Regions from separate parts of the Homo sapiens genome. Here regions 2 and 3 are each linked to region 1. The links are contacts of gene promoters, found by promoter capture Hi-C in blood cells and fetal thymus (Javierre and others, 2016). All regions are on one chromosome and are shown on one strand. Each heading gives the region's core, a stretch centred on a gene start or on the middle of the fragment in contact. The rest is flanking DNA. Distances are from core to core; before and after follow the strand shown.

Region 1 (2,658 bases), core at 101-2,600:
TTAGTTATTAGTTTACTCTGTCTGGTGAGTAATGTTAGTTTTCCTAATAAATAAGATTTCCTTTTAAAATAAATGCATCCAAATATTTTTAAAAATGAGTCACTTTCACAAAAACCTATTTAGTAAATAAGAGTTCAGGTGATTCTAGCAGCCGTGGCAAAAATAACTGATCTAGAGGCCTGGCGTGGCGTGAAATCCCTGAGTACAGGGGGAGGAAGAGAGCGAAGGCGGCTGGAGTTCCTCGCAAAGAAGCAAGCCCCGGGCACCAGGGTCCGCAGTGACCAGCCGCCGGTCCTCCACGCTTCCAGAGGAGACGATTTGGAACTGACCCGGGAGGGCCAAGAAACACCTTCCGAGTACCAGGCTAAACCCCGCCAGGGAGAGAGACCGGGACGAAGGTCCCAGGCTAGTGCGACACCGCAGGTCGGGGTTCCCTGGTTGGAGGAGCGCGGTGGGCTGGGAGGGGCGCGTTGGTGCGCACTGGAACAGGGGTCCCCGGCTTGAGCAGCGCGGTGAGACAGAGTTCCCGCGCTGGAGGGGCGCGGTGAGACAGAGGTCCTGGGCTGGAGAGGTGCGTTGGGGCGCACTGGAACCGGGGTCCCGGGCTTGAGTGGCGCGGTGGGACAGAGTTCCCGGGCTGGAGGGGCGCAGTGGGACAGAAGATCCGGGCTAGAGGGGCGCGGTGGGACGGAGCTCCCGGGATGGACGGGCGCAGTGGGACAAGGGTCCCGGACTGGAGGGGCGCGTTGGGGAGCATTGGAACAGGGGTCCTGAGCAGGAGGGGCGAGGTGGGCTGGGAGGGGCGCGGTAGGGCGCACTGGAACAGGGGTCCTGGGCTGGAAAGACACGTTGGAACAAGGGTCCCGGGCTTGGGCGGCGCGGTGAGACGGAGTTCCCGGGCTGGAGGGGCGCGGTGGGACAGGGGATCCGGGCTGGAGGGGCGCGGCGAGACCGGGGTCCCAGGCTGGAAAGGTGCAAGTCGAGGCTGGAGGACCGGCGGGAGGGAACCGGGAACCCGGCGGAGCTAAGGGGCGCAGAGTGGGGGTGGGGCCGTGCTGCCGGGGGAGCCCCCTCACGCAGGAAGGACCGGGGCCGCGGACCCCACCGCCCCCACACCCCGTCGTCGCGGAGTTCGGGCCGCCCCGGCTGCGCCCGGGCCCTACCTGTCCTCGCTGGCCGTGATCACGCCGTCCTCCTTGGGGATGAGCAGCGCGGCCGTGACGGCGTCCTGGTGCCCCTCGATCTTGCTCAGCAGCACCGGGCGGCTGCTCTGCGGCCTGGAGTGGATTTCGGCCGCCATGTTCGCGCGGCGACTGCTGCGGCCTCCTCGGCAGGCAGCCCATCAGCTGACGCCTGGGCGGGCGGGGGACGCGCCGGTTTCCCTTCGGCTGCTGGGGCCTCTTGGGCGCCGCGCCGCCGTAAGCCCCCGAGTGCTGCCGCCGCACCGCCCGTATTGCCTGGGGATGCCGCGCAAGCTGAAAGTCTGTGGCTGGGAGAGGATGCCACGGGGCGCCTGCGGAGAAATGGGGAAAGTAAGGAAGGTTTAAAAGTAAAGCCATTCACCCAGGAATAAATTGAGCACCTGGAGGGGACAAGGAATTGTCCCCCAAACCAGAGATTTCAGAAATTACAATACTACATTTCATCCATTTGAAGAAGCCATTGTTTGAAAGGCACACACTTTCAGAAATGTTAAAATGTGAAAAAATATAGTGCATCTTAGAATCTTTGAACTACAATAGATAGCACTGAGTGGTGACCATATACCAGGCATTAACTCAGTGTCTTTGCATCTCATTTAATACTGATAATTTTAAGAGATGAAATAGATGCTCTTGTATTCCCATTTTAGAGATGAGAAAACAACCAGAGAAGTTTGATCACTACCTTAAGGTTGCACAGCTATGAGAGGGAGAAAAGCAGCCCTTGATCTCCAGGAGCTGCCTGGTACTATCAGCTGAGCTTTGGTGTTGCTAGGAAGTGTTTGCTTCCTGTGGAACATAAACATCAGACGAGGCCACTCCATAATCACATCTAAACACGGCCAAAATATGAGCGATGTACAAGCCACAGAAATTACCAAACATCCCCCTATCCTGGCTAATATGAGTGACTCTTATTTCTTTATTAATTATAATGTTAACCGCTATCTAGTCTTCCTCCATTTAGATAAGATTTATTAAGATATGCAACCTTAGAATTATACGCATTTCCTGACAACATCCAGTCCACAGGAGAGCCTCTCTTCCTTAAGCTCTCCCAGGTCACCTAACACAAACACAAATCCTATAATAAAACTGTCCGAACATCCCTTTACCCAGACACCTCACCATTCCCAATGGTGTGTCTTCTCCCTCCAACAAGCAATCAACCCCATTTGTTCCTGGTGGTTTTTGGCTAGAGGTCATTGACAACCAGTAAGTTCAAGAGCCAAAATTTGGACTCAGGAAGTCAATGACTCCAAACTTCTGCCCCACTATATTATTCTGACACCTGAATTGCAGAATTGCATTAGAACCGTACTATCCACATGACTATAGAGCACTTGAAATGTGGCTTGTCCAAACTGAGATGTAGTACAAGTGCAAAATACTACAAGATTTTATAGACTTAGCACAAAACAAAAAAGATGTAATATAGTTCATCAATAATTGTTAC
Region 2 (2,658 bases), core at 104-2,603, 1.3 Mb before region 1:
CTCTTTGAGCTCTTCTTGGAGTTCAGCCACAGGACCTTTGCATATGTGCTTCCCTTTGCCCGGATGACTCCTGGGTTAACTAGATTTGGCTACAGCTCAAGTAAGGGCACTTCTTCAGACACTTCCCTGACCGTGCAGCAGTCTTGGTTTTGGAATCTTCTAGTCATTCACAGTAGGGTCTTACTTGTAATTATACACCAAATTGTGTAGTTGTTTTGCTTATGTCTGTTTCCCCCTGTACTCTGAGAACAAGACAATGAATAGCTTGTGTCAGGCCTCTGAGCCAAAGCTCAGCCATTATAACCTCTGTGACCTGCATGTACACATCCAGGTGGCCTGCAGGAGCCAAGAAGCCTGGAGCAGCCAAAAAAAACGCAAAGAAGTAAAACAGCCAGTTCCTGCCTTAACTGATTAACCAACATTACAACATTTTACCATTGTGACTTGTCCCTGCCCTACCTTAGCCGATCAATCGACTTTGTGACATTCTTCTTCTGGACAATGAGTCTTATGATCTCCCCACCCTGTACCTTGTGACCCCTTCCTCTGCTAACAATAGATAACCACCTTCTACTGTAATTTTCCATTACCTAGACAACTCCTATAAAGCAACCCCTTCCCCATCTCCCTTCGCTGACTCTTTTTCGGACTCAGCTGACTTGCACCTAAGTGAATAAACAGCCTTGTTGCTCACACAATGCCTGTTGGTGGTCTCTTCACACGGATGCGCTTGACAGCTTGGTTATCCAAGCGCCCGGATGGTGCTCAGCAAGTGGCAAGTGCTCAATAAATGTGGGTTGAATGAATGAATGGGTGAAAGATTCCCGGAGCTCCTGTAGGGAACTGAGGACCCAAGAGTGAGGAAGCCAGGTCCCCTTCCCCATCCGCGGGGAAATTGGAGGTTGCGGGGGGACACAGATCAATAAACTAAGAAACAAGTCTCGCTCATCTCTCCAGCTGGTGTGCGATTCCTCAAACTAACCCTTCCCCAATCACCGAGGGTTCGAATGAAGGGGTGGGATGCTGAAGGCAAGCGCTGGGTGATCGATCAGCTGAACAATGGTCAGATCCTGGTGGAGATCCCAGGTCCTCAGCCAGGCGGCAGGAGCCCGCGCTGCCCGGCTCGGGCTGGCTGCCAGTTGACCCCTCTCCCCGTCCCTCGTGTCCCACGCGGCGCACTCTCGCCAACGCCCGGCGCGCCAGCCAATGCGCCCGGGCCGCTGTAGCTGCTCCGGGGCCAGGGCGCTGGGCCAGCTCTGGCGCCCGGCGCTTGTGATTGGCTGCCCCCAGCCTCAGCCCAGCGCGCCCTCCCACCCAGGGCGCAGTTGGGTCCCCGCTCGCTGCCTAGCCTCTGCCTTTTCCTCTCCGCCCAGCCAGTGCCCAGCGCGGGGCCCGGATCCGGCCGGGCACTTCCCACAGGCGCCGCAGAGCAGCGTGGGTGCAGGCTGCAGTGGCTGGCGCCGTCCTCGCCCGGCCAGGCCATGAAGGTAGAGTTTGCACCGCTCAACATCCAGCTGGCGCGGCGGCTGCAGACGGTGGCCGTGCTGCAGTGGGTCCTGAAATACCTGCTGCTCGGTAAGGACCCCGCCCCCCGGGCCGCGGGGCTTGGGCTCCATATCCTCCCTCGGGACGGTCCGGATTCCAGGACCTGCATAGAACCTTCCAACCCTCGTTCCCCTGTCGGCCAGAGCAGGCAGGTCAAAGAGGGCATTTGGAGCTAACGTGGACTCTGGTTTCCTCACGAGAACCTCATCGCTAACGACTGTTTAATTTTATTTTCTCCTGCGTTACTTTTTTAAATTGAGGTGCACCTTGCCTACAATAAAAGGCGCAGTTATACGGATACAGCTCGATGACTTTTGGCGACTGTATCTACCAAAATGTAACCATGACCCCATCGAACGCATGAGCACTTTAACCCCTCAAAAGTTGGCAAACTCGTTTCTCGAACTGTTGATTCATAGATGGCAAAGTAATGCCTCAGTAGTTAAAACCTTGTTCCTTCTCCCTCTTTGTCTCCCCACCCTCCTGACAAAGAGCAGTGTTCCCTTTCCCGTTTTGGAGATTTCCTGGATGCATAGCAGTACCTTTCTGTAAAGAAGGCTGCACCACTCATTGCATTTGGTTGAGCGGTTTCTCTCTGGAAATAGTTTGACTCAGTAGCGTGTGTGTTCCAGTTGGTTCCCAAGTTGAGCCCATGAAACATACACGAGCCGAATCATTAGATGGGGCAAAAACGTGGGTGGTTTTTCTTTTTGTTTTTTGTTTTTTCCTTCATATTTGTTCTGCTCTTGAAGTAAATAGGGGTGATGTGGGAGGAGGGAGGAATTTGGGGGAGACCCTTCTATTGAAACATAAACTCTTCTGAAGACTAAGATCATGTGTATGCTGTAAGATCATGGATTGTACAGCGTTGGGGTGGTAATAATAGTAATAAGCCCATTGCATTGGAGAGTTTTACACTTTTAAAACTGCTTTTACATTTCGAAAGCCTGAATCAGTGGTTCTCAACCCTGGCTCTAGATGAGAATCACTGGAGAAGCTTCTAAAAAGTGCAGATGCCCAGGCTCCATCCTGGAATTTGTTTATTATTATTATTATTATTATTATTATTATTATTATCTTTGAGACGGAGTTTCACTCTTGTTGCCCACGCTG
Region 3 (2,658 bases), core at 106-2,605, 1.0 Mb before region 1:
GTTATGTGGTCACCTTATTTTTAAGACATATTCCCTATTTCTTTTGCAGACTTAGAAAAAACTGAATTTTTTTCTATTTAAGATCTCGCTGAAGTTAATAGCACATTTCTAGAAATTGAAATCATGAGTTAAGCATGTTTGATTTTTCTTTTCCAGCCTATGGATTGTAATTTCCAAAACATTTTATCATAATGAAGTTTGCTTTTGTCATATTTACATATCTGGCACTGCCTTTTTTTTTTTTTTTTTTTTTGAGATGGAGTTTCACTCTTGTTGCCCAGGCTGGAGTGCAATGGTGCCGTCTCAGCTCACCGCAACGTCCGCCTTCTGGGTTCAAGTGATTGTCCTGGCTCAGCCTCCCGAGTAGTTGGGATTACAGGCATGCGCCACCACGTCCGGCTAATTTTGTGTTTTTAGTAGAGACAAGGTTTCTCCATGTTGGTCAGGCTGGTCTCGAACTCCCAGCCTCAGGTGATCCGCCCACCTCGGCCTCCCAAAGTGCTGGGATTACAGGCATGAGCCACAGCGCCCAACCAGCACAGCTTTTTATGGCACTCTGTTCTTGAGTCTGTTTTTGAGAAATCGGGTAGTTATGAGAAGGTACTGAAAACAGTACATTTTTATGTGCAAAAGTTTTCTACTTTTCTATCTGCTTATAGATTCATTTTTTTGTCTTTGATATGCTATTTGAATTCAAAGGTTGGATTCTCTTTTAGTCTAAGCATATATACAGAAGTCTTATGTTTCAGGAAGCTTCGTTTTTCTCCGGTATCCCACACATATTTTATTCATTTTAATGTGGCTAGTATTGTCTTTCAGTCGTCATTCGGTATGTACAGCAGCAAACTAGTTCTCAATTGTGTAAAAAGAAGAAAAGCTTATGTGGTGAATATGAAATTTCTTCCTAATTCGTGTATCAGTATAACTGGACAAAATAAAATCCTAGAGCTATGATAGTTGTTTCCTAAATGTGCGTGTGTAAGTGTATGTGGCTCTTTCCTGCTTATCTTAACCATAGTGCCTTTGTATTCAATGATTATTCAACAAAGTATGAAGTATTTGAACTCATAAAAGTTAGGTGAGACAGACTGTTTTTTAGCAACTTTTTCTGTCTATAGTTCATTACTGTGAAGTTTTATTTAGTTAGTAAAAGGAGGTTTTGAATTTCTATATGTCAGAAGATCTGCCTACTAGCATTTGCTATGAAATTGGCATTTGTGGTTCATCAAACTTTGTTCAGAAGGCTGTGTCTAGACTGTGTCTTGGGAACATGTTATAGTTTTCTTTAGGTTCATTGGGAAAGTAGAATTAATTTTTAGATTTTGCATATAATAAATGAAACAAGTAGTTTCTCTTGGCCATACTCAAGAAGAAAGTGTGCAGTGTCGCTGGTTAGCTGAGGCTTTAGTTTCTGTTCATTCTGTGTTGCAGCTGTGGCAGTGATCTGCAGACTGCAGAGTGGGTATCTCAGCTGCATGTTAAACATGCTAGGCCTTTTTCGTTTTCCCCTCTCTTGGTTTCTTGTTACACCCATTGCATTGCATCAGTAGCAGCATCTGCCTAGGGTGTTGAAAAGGGGAACTTTCACAACTGGTGGGTTAAGCTGTGTACTTTCTGCTATTAGTGCCTGCTAGCTGATCAAGCTCAGTGAAGTGTGTCTTCATTAAATAGTTTCCATATTTGAAGATAATCTTCAACTGGAAAAGAAAACGAATGTTGTAGCAATATTTAAAATATTTTTTGAGTAAGACTTTTGGGGATTAACCCCAGAATGTTGTATCTGATATGGTTGAAGGAAAGATGCACAAGCCTTATTTCAAATTAATGAACTTTGAAGCTTTGTTTCCATCTTATCCCAACAGTCTATTTTGAGGTCCTGAGGGGAGGATGAGTGGATGAAAAAAGGCAGTGGCGATGACCCTGCTCTCGTTGTGTCCAAGGTAGAGTAGCCACCAGCTTCACTACGACCAGATTCTTCCTTGGGGGACAGAAAAACAAAAGGCACTTGGTTGCTTGGCAGGCCTTTTCAGGGTCCTTTTAAGTTTCATATGGTTTTATAAAACTGTAGCAGAGTTAAGAGCTGGAACCTGTGTCAGCATCACCTGATTCCAGTGTTCCCAGCAGTAAATGCATTGCACTAACGTCGTCTTGAAATGAACAGTGAAATGATTTCAGGACAACCTTAAAATACATGTATACCTGAAATAGAACAAAGCTGCAAAGACTAAAAATAGAAACAGAAAAGAGTACAAGCTGGCTCATATACTTTGTGAGCCATCAGAAACACTTGATTTTTTCTTAGATATTTTATAAAAATAAGAAGAGAATGAGGGATTATGTAATATGGTGCTTAGAGAAGACTTCACTATGACATTCCTTCTAAATTGATCCAAAAAGATAATAGAAACACTCATTTATGTCCTTGTAAGTTGACTTAGCTTTCTTTTCCTCTTTCTTAATGCCGTCTTTTGTGTTATTTCTTAGTCACATTTTTTTACCCTGTTTGTGTATGTGTATAAAACTTATTTTCTGATTTATTAGGACATTTGCATCATGCTATATGTAACAAATTATGGTCAGTCTCTTGGCTGGGATTTGTGGGTTGGTTATTATATTACTCTTCTCTTAGTTTCCCCTTCCAAACTGTCCCTCTCCTTT

Evidence for each region. Contacts are between HindIII fragments. The CHiCAGO score rates a contact against its expected background, and 5 or more counts as called.
Region 2: a contact is called between the fragment with the promoter of MOGAT1 here and the fragment with the promoter of WDFY1 in region 1, in 4 of 17 cell types (M0 macrophages, M1 macrophages, M2 macrophages and 1 more). The highest score is 17.7, in M0 macrophages.
Region 3: a contact is called between a fragment that was not itself captured here and the fragment with the promoter of WDFY1 in region 1, in 2 of 17 cell types (M0 macrophages and total B cells). The highest score is 7.0, in M0 macrophages.

What each region holds. Positions count from the first base shown.
Region 1 is chr2:223,943,985-223,946,642 of GRCh38, forward strand. It overlaps WDFY1 (WD repeat and FYVE domain containing 1), which reads right to left and starts at 1,351. Exons shown (of 12, transcript NM_020830.5): 1 at 1,164-1,351. The coding sequence starts at 1,300. LOC124907989 (a long non-coding RNA gene) reads left to right here. Exons shown (of 2, transcript XR_007088100.1): 1 at 1-423. RefSeq lists enhancers at 163-282, 293-352 and a silencer at 923-1,102. The HindIII fragment of the contact is 5,306 bases long and covers 1-2,658 here.
Region 2 is chr2:222,670,305-222,672,962 of GRCh38, forward strand. MOGAT1 (monoacylglycerol O-acyltransferase 1) reads left to right here and starts at 1,354. Exons shown (of 6, transcript NM_058165.3): 1 at 1,354-1,575. The coding sequence starts at 1,482. It overlaps LOC124907985 (a long non-coding RNA gene), which reads left to right. Exons shown (of 2, transcript XR_007088095.1): 2 at 332-698. The HindIII fragment of the contact is 3,409 bases long and covers 1-2,540 here.
Region 3 is chr2:222,910,814-222,913,471 of GRCh38, forward strand. All of the region lies in intron 4 of ACSL3 (acyl-CoA synthetase long chain family member 3), which reads left to right. Among named protein-coding and RNA genes, the nearest start is that of ACSL3-AS1, 7.5 kb to the right of the region's middle. The HindIII fragment of the contact is 960 bases long and covers 876-1,835 here.